Regions from separate parts of the Homo sapiens genome. Here all the other regions are linked to region 2. Evidence: promoter capture Hi-C in 16 types of primary human blood cells and fetal thymus (Javierre and others, 2016). All regions are on one chromosome and are shown on one strand. The core of a region is centred on a gene start or on the middle of the fragment in contact, and the rest is flanking DNA. Distances in the headings are between cores, read along the strand shown. Region 1 overlaps LOC124904882 (a long non-coding RNA gene). Region 2 holds the start of NANP (N-acetylneuraminic acid phosphatase). Region 3 overlaps MIR663AHG (MIR663A host gene).

Region 1 (2,700 bases), core at 106-2,605, 560 kb after region 2:
CTTAATGGGACTCATACACCTCTTGGAATTTTAGAGCTCAAGGATTCAGAATTTGGATCTCATTGGTTCATTTTGCAGATGAGAAAACTGAGGCCTAGAGATGTCAGGGGCCTTGCCACATGGCAGGTTGGAGGCAGAACAGAGGGCAGAAGCCAGGAGGGGTTCTAGGCCTCTCCCTTGGCTCCCTGTCTAGTGCTATCTGTACACTCAGGAGCTCCATGAAGGAGGAAGCCATTTTTGATCCACACAGGAGGCAGGACAGTGGCCACAGCTCAAAGTTCTCAGAGCTTTGCCCTTGGAGTGACCCCAAGATGTCCCTGTGATCTCAGAGACTTACAGCTCTCAAATAGCACTAAAAGTGACGCCTGGCCTTGAGCGAGAGAAGGCAGTGCAGCTACCACAGTAGGGGAACCCCAGGAGAGGCAGCTTGGGAATGGGGAAGGGCATTGGCATGTGGGGGCAATTGCTGTGCCCCCCTTGGCCCTGCAGGCCTGGCAGTTAGGGACTGTTCTCCCAGGTGTAATGATTTTCATGGTGTCTTCCTTGAACACTGAGGGCTGCAAGGGGTCTTGTGGGGAAGTCTGTTCTATGGGTGGTTGATGGATGATGTCCCCAGCCGTGCATGCTCATGGATGGCTGGGGTGAGTGATTAAGAGTTACCAGGATTTGGTGCTGCTGGAATTGAGTTACCATGTCGCTCATGCTGACCAGGAGCTGCCCCACCACAGAGCCCAACTGTTCTGCCTCCTGCACCGCCCTCAGAGCATCAGAGAGCATAGCTGCCTGGCCGGGTATCCCGCAGCCCCAGGAAGGACGCCAGGCAGTTGCTGGATTGCACTCCCACTTCCCAGCTCTTCTTGCGCTTGTGGCCACCCTCTCTCGTCCTGTGCTTCGCTGTGTGTTGTTGGGTTGACCCCGCAGGGTCAGGGGCGCACTGCACTTCTGCAGGGCTTTGTGCACAGTGCCACAGTGCATGAGGCTATGGTGTGTTGCAGCCATATGGGATCCTCAAGCCCCCTGCTGAAGCAGATGTATGCGCAGACTCCACATACCTCATCCTCACCCGGAGTTCATGGGGACATCGAGAAATAGGAGCCAGAAGGGAAGGGAGCCCTGTCACCTTGTGAAGCTGCCACCATGGCAGCCCTAGAGATATAGCTGAGAAAGCTCCTCATTTTTTCTTACTCAATTTTTTTTCTCATCTCTTTATCTATAGGTAAGCTTGCTTAAAAGAACTTTGGGTGGCCTGGTAACTTCAGGACGCTTCGCCAATTACCAGAGGAAGTAAGGCTTGCCCAAAACCGAGCAAACCAGAACCAGTGGCCCCTGTCACCTTTAGATCATTAGCATATCATTATAATGCTAAAGTCCCCACTCATAGAAGAGAATCATAGAAGAGAATCGTTGCCACTTTCTGCACACGTGTCGTATGAAGAGCCTGTTCATGATCTGCACCTGCGTGTCTGAAGTTCCTCCCCACATAAGCTTACATAGCTCCTGCCCCACATCTAACCCTGTTACATTCCCCAGCTCCCCACCGCTCTGGAAGAAGCTGTCTTTAGAGCAAGTGCTCTCTCCTTCTCCATGCCTGGCCGGGAATAAAACCTGCTTTTCCTTTTCCCCAATCTGGTGATCTTTCTTTGTAGCTGATGCAGAGTAGAGAAAGAACTCAGTGAACTGGTGACGAAGCCAATTCCAGACTCCCAGCATCTGGGTCCTGTACTTGATCTGAGCTCTGCCATGCTCTTCTAAATTCTGTGTTTTGGTTTTACTGTGCATTTCAGCTATTTGAACAGTGTCTGTCTCTCCCCAATTTGAACTGTGACCTGCTTGCTTGCAGGGACCAAAACTGGACCGTCCTTGTCCAACTGAGAGCCCTCAGCTCTTGGTGGTGCACATGGGAGAAGCTCACAGGTTTCTTCTGAGTGTCATTGGAAAGAGGTGTGTGTGTGTGGGGTCACAGAGACAAATGAAGAGAACAGGAAGAGGGAGAGATGGAGGAGAGAAGAGGAAGGGAGGGTTTTACCAGCTCTTTGGAGACCACTGAGTGCACAGGGAGTGGTTGGGGATCCGTTATCAGCCAGGACTGTTTCTTGAGCATCTGAGCACTGCGACTCTGGAGTAATGGGCATGGCAGGAGCTATGAAGGCAAATGGCGAAGGCCGTGTTGGTGGGCTCTGTCCCTAAAGCTGTTAAATTAAGATGCTCTGGACGCTATGGCTCTGCTACCTACTAGCTGGTGGCCTCGGGTGAGCTTCTGTCCTCCTGCTTATTTTCACACATGTACAGCAAGGGCAAGAGCATTCACTGCTGCAGGTTGTAGGGTCAGTAGTCACAGCTGTGTTGGCATTTCTGGCCTAAACATTAGTACCGAGACAGAAGCGAATCCCGGATTCCCAAGAACCCTGCCCTCTAAGCACTTCGTGTGTCTGCAGCCCCTGCCTGACAGCATCCAGCGTTCCAAGTGAGCTCTCCTGAAGTTGAGGCCAGCGGCTTCTTAGGGAGAAGATGTGACCAGCACTGCCCAGATAGCCTGCTGCCCTGTCCAAACCTCTGAGGGTCCTTCGGGATGCAGGGCCAAGAGTGGGTGCTCCTTGTGCTTGTTCAATCTTGTGCTTGTTCTGCAAGAGTTGATGACTGGCTGCCAGGAGGGAGGCAGTGGGGACGACCTTGGCCTGGGCTGTGACACTCAGAAGGAAG
Region 2 (2,812 bases), core at 245-2,744:
CAATTTTTTTCTCTAAAGAGCTAAATAATGAATATTTTAGGATTTCCAGCCACGTGGTCTCGCTTACAATTACTCAACTCTGTCTGCTTCTGTATGGCAACAGCAGCCACAGACGATACAGAAATGAATGTGTGCGCTGTGTTCTAATGCAACTATGGGCACTAAAATTTCTTGATTTTCATGTGTAACAAAACACTGTTATTTTGATTTTTTAAATCCATTTACAAATGTAAAAATCACCCTTAGCCAGGCGCGGTGGCTCACGCCTGTAATCCCAGCTCTTTGGGAGGCCAAGACGGGTGGATCACGAAGTCAGGAGTTCGAGAACCAGCCTGGCCAACATGGTGAAACTCCGTCTCTACTAAAAATACAAAAATTAGCCGGGGGGTGGTGGCATGCGCCTGTAATCCCAGCTACTCAGGAGGCTGAAGCCGGAGAATTGCTTGAACCCGGGAGGCGGAGGTTGCAGTGAGCCAAGATCGTGCCACTACACGCCAGACTGGGTGACAGAGCAAGACTCCATCTCGAAAATAAAAATAAAAATAAATTAAAAAATAAAAAAAACCACTTAGCTCACTGGCTAAACAAAATCAGGTAATTGGCCTGTACCTGACAGTCAATTTCTGGTCACTAATGATGACCACATATCCAAATTACAGTAAAGGTACCCAAGAGAGACAAAGATTAGAGATTAGTGTTACGATCCCCGTTCTGCCAGCACTAGGAGACAAGAGTTGCTACAGCCCTTCCGCGGGTTTAAAAGGCGGTCGACGTCCCTCAACCTCTTGCTATGCCTGAAAACAACCGAGTAAAAGGCATCCAAAGACCTGAGAACGCAAGGTTTCAGGAAAACAATCAGGAAGGGCAAAACATGGGGCAGCCACTACACAGCCCCTCCGTCTTAGGGCACAGGTACTAAACGGGTTGTAAGAGACCCAAGTCACATCCTTCAGAAACGTGCTGGCGCGGGCCCAGGCAGACAGGGATTCCACCCCGGCGAAGGCCGCAAATGGCGCGAGGCGGGAAGGCGCAGGCTCCACCTTCCCCCGTCCCCAGATCACCTACAGTGACCTGCGCGTACAGGCAGGCTAGGACCGCGGGCGCTCAAGGCAGACATCAGGCCCGCCGACGTCTCCGCGCCGCCCGCCCGGCCACCCGGAGAGCCTGCTGCCCAGCGCCTGGCAGCGCGGACAACCTCTCTCGGGGAGGTGATGACGGTCCCTCGCGCCGGAGGGCCCAGGGAGGAAAGAGATAAGCAGAAAGACACCAGGGAAGAACACCACGCTTCGGACCAACGCCAGCCACAGCCACTGAGAAGTCGCCGCATCCGGCGGCGCCGACACACGTTTCCAGGGCTCTTGAGAGACCATACCCTGGGAGTCTCGCGGGATCTCACTTTTCTCGGCGGCGCAGGGAATGAGACAGATCGCGGGAATTCCACCCGCGCCGGGAGATGGTCTGGTGACTTCGCGGCTCCTCCCACGTCTCTCTGGGCAGTCCGCCTTGCGCATGCGCAGGCGGCGGTGGCAAGGCTACGGTTCGCGCCAGCGGCCGGCGCTATGGGGCTGAGCCGCGTGCGGGCGGTTTTCTTTGACTTGGACAACACTCTCATCGACACGGCCGGGGCGAGCAGGAGAGGCATGTTGGAGGTAACGTCCCCACCCATGGCGCTCCTCTGGGCGGGGTCAGTGCGCCCCGCCCCGTCCTGCACGCTCACCTCCCCTTGACCCCACTTCCACCCCGGCGCCGCGGGCCGCTCTTGCTGGTTGAAACCTGTGGAGCGTGCGGGTGCGGAGGTGGCTGGAGGCGCGCGGGCCCTGCGGGTCTGCTTTCCCTGGCCTGGCGGCCGCTTGTCACCCAATCTCGAGCCCTGGAGCGGCTGCTCGCAGGTGCCTTGGCGCTCGGGACGCGGAAGGGCTCCGTGACGGCTGCCACGGTGGCGGAGGTGCCCGTGGGCGCGGGAGGCGACAGCAAAGCCGCGAGACCAGGCGCTGGTCCCGCCCCCGGTCAGACTGTCGGTGTGGAGCTCGACAGAGGGTCGTGTCCCCCATGCGACTTTCGGGGTTGCTGGGAGGAGACATGGTAGAGTTAGCCCCAGTGTTGACCCAAGAAGGGACACGGCTGTCAGTACCGAGCCTGGACTTAAGCCCTGCTTTAGAGAATTGTCGCCGCAGAACTTCTTCTGGCCTCCCTGGCGGGGTGGTGGTCACCGTGGCTTTCTGACACGTGACACAGCAAAAGCCCGTGCTGCGAGGGCATGCCCTTCCTGAGGCGCTCCTCCGCGGCACTGCCCCTCTACACGCGCGGAGGCGCTTTCAGACCTTCCCGTGTTCCAGCCCCAGTCCACCCCGGCTTCCCTTTCTCTACCTTCAGCTTCAAGGGGAAAGGGAAGGATTTATCAGATGTGGAAAACTCACTTTCAAAAGCTAATTCATCCAAACCTGAGCGCCCCGTCCTCTTCATGCTTCATCAGTTAGTTTTTGTGTCCCTGGATCTTCCACTACCTCATCCGTTTTCTTTTTAGCTGCATTCCACTCCTGCCGCATATTCATGTTTGCCCTATAGTTTTAAAAAAGCTGTAAAAAGGATGCCTCCCTTTGGGCTATTCTTCCTGCTGTAGATGTTGCCTGTCTCTCTTGACAGCCATGTTTTCCCGGAGAAATCTATACCCGTTATCTCCTTGTCTCTACCTCCTATTTATTACTAAATCCATCGTAATGTCGCTTTATCTTCACCGCTAGACTGAAATAGACTTGCTGGATCACTAGGCATTCCCAAAATGCCGGAATCAGTAGACATTTTTAAAGTCTGT
Region 3 (2,700 bases), core at 19-2,518, 580 kb before region 2:
TAGTCAGAACACAATGGGATAGCACATCCAAAGTGCTGAAAGAAAAAATAAGTGTTTTGTTCTGTTTATCTTACCAAAGTGGTAATGTGTGTAGGATTTATATGTAAAGGGAAAAAACTTTAAGAGGAATTAGACATAGTCAATGGAAAGAATATGACCAATAATGTGTTCTAGGTCTGGCTTGGTTAGATATAACATGTTTAACTTTGGATAATTCATGAATCCTTTGCAAATCTTTCTTTGCCTCCGATATATCTCGGCTGGAGTCAACACTAAAAACTTGAACTCCATATATTGTGTATATCTGTTATTTCAAGTTAGTATATTTTATGTTTCCTTCTTGATGGAAGCTTGTCTTATTTTGTTCTCTACAGTCTGTATTTTTTTCTTTTCATAATTCTGTAGCAATCGTGTTCCAAATATAAAAATAATTCTTTTGTGCTGTGTGAAAATATGTGTTCTTTTATTTAAGCTTCCAGACGAATGTGTTATTTCAAGTGGGAGACTATGATTTTTCTCTAAAGATGATGGGTAGGGTTTTGTTGTTGTTGTTGCCGTTTGTTTGTTTGTCTAACTTTACTAGTAGGTAGATTATTTGAATGACTGATCTCATTAACCATCTCTCCTGCTAAGTCTGTCTCCTTTTCCTTCTAAATCTATCTCCTTTCCTTCAAGTCTTTCATCTGAGTGACATTAGAAATTCTCAATACAACTGGTATTGTGCCCAGCTAAATCCATCTGATTTTTACTTTTAAAAATGGCAAGTTGATGTAACATTTCATTATACTATATACAAGAGAAAAATCAGAGCAAAATGTAATTGACAGTTTTCTGAGTTTCTTTAGTCTTAAGTTTTGAAATTGTTTTTATCTATTTTTATTTATTTATTTATTTTTTACAGACAGGGTCTCACTCTGTCACCCAGGGTGGAGTGCAGTGGTGCAATTATGGCTCACTGTAGTCTTGATCTCCTGGGCTCAAGCAGTCCTCCCAACTCAGCTCCCAAGTAGCTAGAACTACAGGTGTGTGCTTTATAATAAAACACATTATTATAAAAACACCCAGCTTTATTTTTTATTAAAGAAAAAAATTTGTAGACATTGGCTTTCATTATGTTGCTCTGGCTGGTCTTGAACTTCCAGCCTCAAGTGATCCTCCCACCTTTGCCTCCCAAAGTGCTGGGATTAAAAGTGTGAACCACCTCATGTAACTTTTTTTTTTTAATTATCATTATAATACTTGATAAAATAAAATAAACAAACTAAAACAAACATCTGAAAATGATGCTAACGTAGTTGGGTGCTGGCTTTAAAAAGTCCATTATGTCTTTTGTCAATTATATTAGTTTTCTAAGGTGGCACTTAAACACATGCACACACACACAGACTGGGTGGCTTAAACAACCGATATTTATTTTCCCACAGTTCTAGAGGCTGTAAATCCAAGGTCAAAGTGCTCCTCTGAGGACCATGATGGAAGGATCTGTTCTAGGCCTCTCTTCTTGGCTTATAGATGGTTGCCTTCTCACAGCTCTATCTTCACACAGTTGTACTTCTGTGCATACATGTAGCTGATTTTTACCCCTTTCTAAATTTTATTTTATATGGACACCATTTTTTTGGATTAGGACCCACCCCGAGGGCCTCATTTTAAATGAATTCTTATTTAAAACATCCCAATATGGTTACTTTCAGAAATACTAGGCTTTAGAATTTCACCATATGAATTTTGGGAGAGAGGAGCACAGTTCAGCCCATAACTAACACACGGTAAGTAACTATTGACCAGGTTACTCATGTTACTCAAAAGAGATAATTCACTTTGTTAATATGAAGCAATTTTTTTCCTCAGTAGGTGTAAGAGTGTGTGTCAAACAGAAGTAGCATTTTAACATATAAGAGACATAGCTGAGCTCTAAATATAGGAGACAGTATGATAATGTTTTACATTTCAAATTCTCTGCCTGCATTAGAATATTTTTGCAGAATGTGTAAAACAATCTAATGAATTGATTGGGATGTGCAGGAACAAGAAATATGGTTGTGATTTTTGCATAAAGCTTTTATATAGTTCCTTTAAAAATATAATTATCTCATTTACCTATTTCCTTAAGGCAATGGGTATATTTTGTTTTATTATTTTTGATCCCGATTTTTCTGACTATGGTTCACAAAAAACCATAAGATAAAGTACCATCCTGTACCTTATCTTCATGCAACAGTTTTTTTTTCTGCTAAATTAATATTTTGTATATTTTTATTTTGTATATATTTGGTATAATTCTGTTAATATTTTATATATTTCATATATTTGTATATGAAATGCGGATGCTTTAGACAACATGAAAATATCTTTGAACATTCATATTTTACCAAGGAAGAAAGATAAGCAAAGCACATGATTAATAGATTTTAGAATTAACTGGTAAGTTACACCAGTTTCAATTTCCCAGAAGTCTAATATATATCCCTGCATTCTTATCGTGAAATATACAGTAACAAGGAAAGAAATTAATATATTAAAGTATCTTAATCTATCCAATTAAATGGTATTTGAAAAAGACTTTAATGCTCTGTCTTTTGACATTGAAATAAAGTGATTTTATCTTGAAATTCCGTAAGATAATGAAGAGTTGGTAATTACATCTTTACATTTTATTGCTCTTTAAATTGCAGAATCTTCATTATTTCTGCGAGAGGT

The links. Contacts are between HindIII fragments. The CHiCAGO score rates a contact against its expected background, and 5 or more counts as called.
Region 1: a contact is called between a fragment that was not itself captured here and the fragment with the promoter of NANP in region 2, in 3 of 17 cell types (total B cells, monocytes and erythroblasts). The highest score is 8.7, in total B cells.
Region 3: a contact is called between a fragment that was not itself captured here and the fragment with the promoter of NANP in region 2, in 1 of 17 cell types (activated CD4 T cells). The highest score is 5.0, in activated CD4 T cells.

Annotation. Positions count from the first base shown.
Region 1 is chr20:25,061,887-25,064,586 of GRCh38, reverse strand. It overlaps LOC124904882 (a long non-coding RNA gene), which reads left to right. Exons shown (of 2, transcript XR_007067555.1): 2 at 1,217-1,625. Among named protein-coding and RNA genes, the nearest start is that of ACSS1, 5.1 kb to the right of the region's middle. The HindIII fragment of the contact is 264 bases long and covers 1,224-1,487 here.
Region 2 is chr20:25,622,696-25,625,507 of GRCh38, reverse strand. It overlaps NANP (N-acetylneuraminic acid phosphatase), which reads left to right and starts at 1,494. Exons shown (of 2, transcript NM_152667.3): 1 at 1,494-1,649. The coding sequence starts at 1,560. ZNF337-AS1 (ZNF337 antisense RNA 1) reads right to left here and starts at 1,463. Exons shown (of 4, transcript NR_126465.1): 1 at 1,373-1,463. RefSeq lists enhancers at 1,405-1,574, 1,546-2,221 and a silencer at 1,745-1,804. The HindIII fragment of the contact is 6,234 bases long and covers 1-2,812 here.
Region 3 is chr20:26,198,518-26,201,217 of GRCh38, reverse strand. MIR663AHG (MIR663A host gene) reads left to right here. Exons shown (of 5, transcript NR_040095.1): 2 at 1,695-1,769. Among named protein-coding and RNA genes, the nearest start is that of MIR663A, 8.4 kb to the left of the region's middle. The HindIII fragment of the contact is 1,587 bases long and covers 475-2,061 here.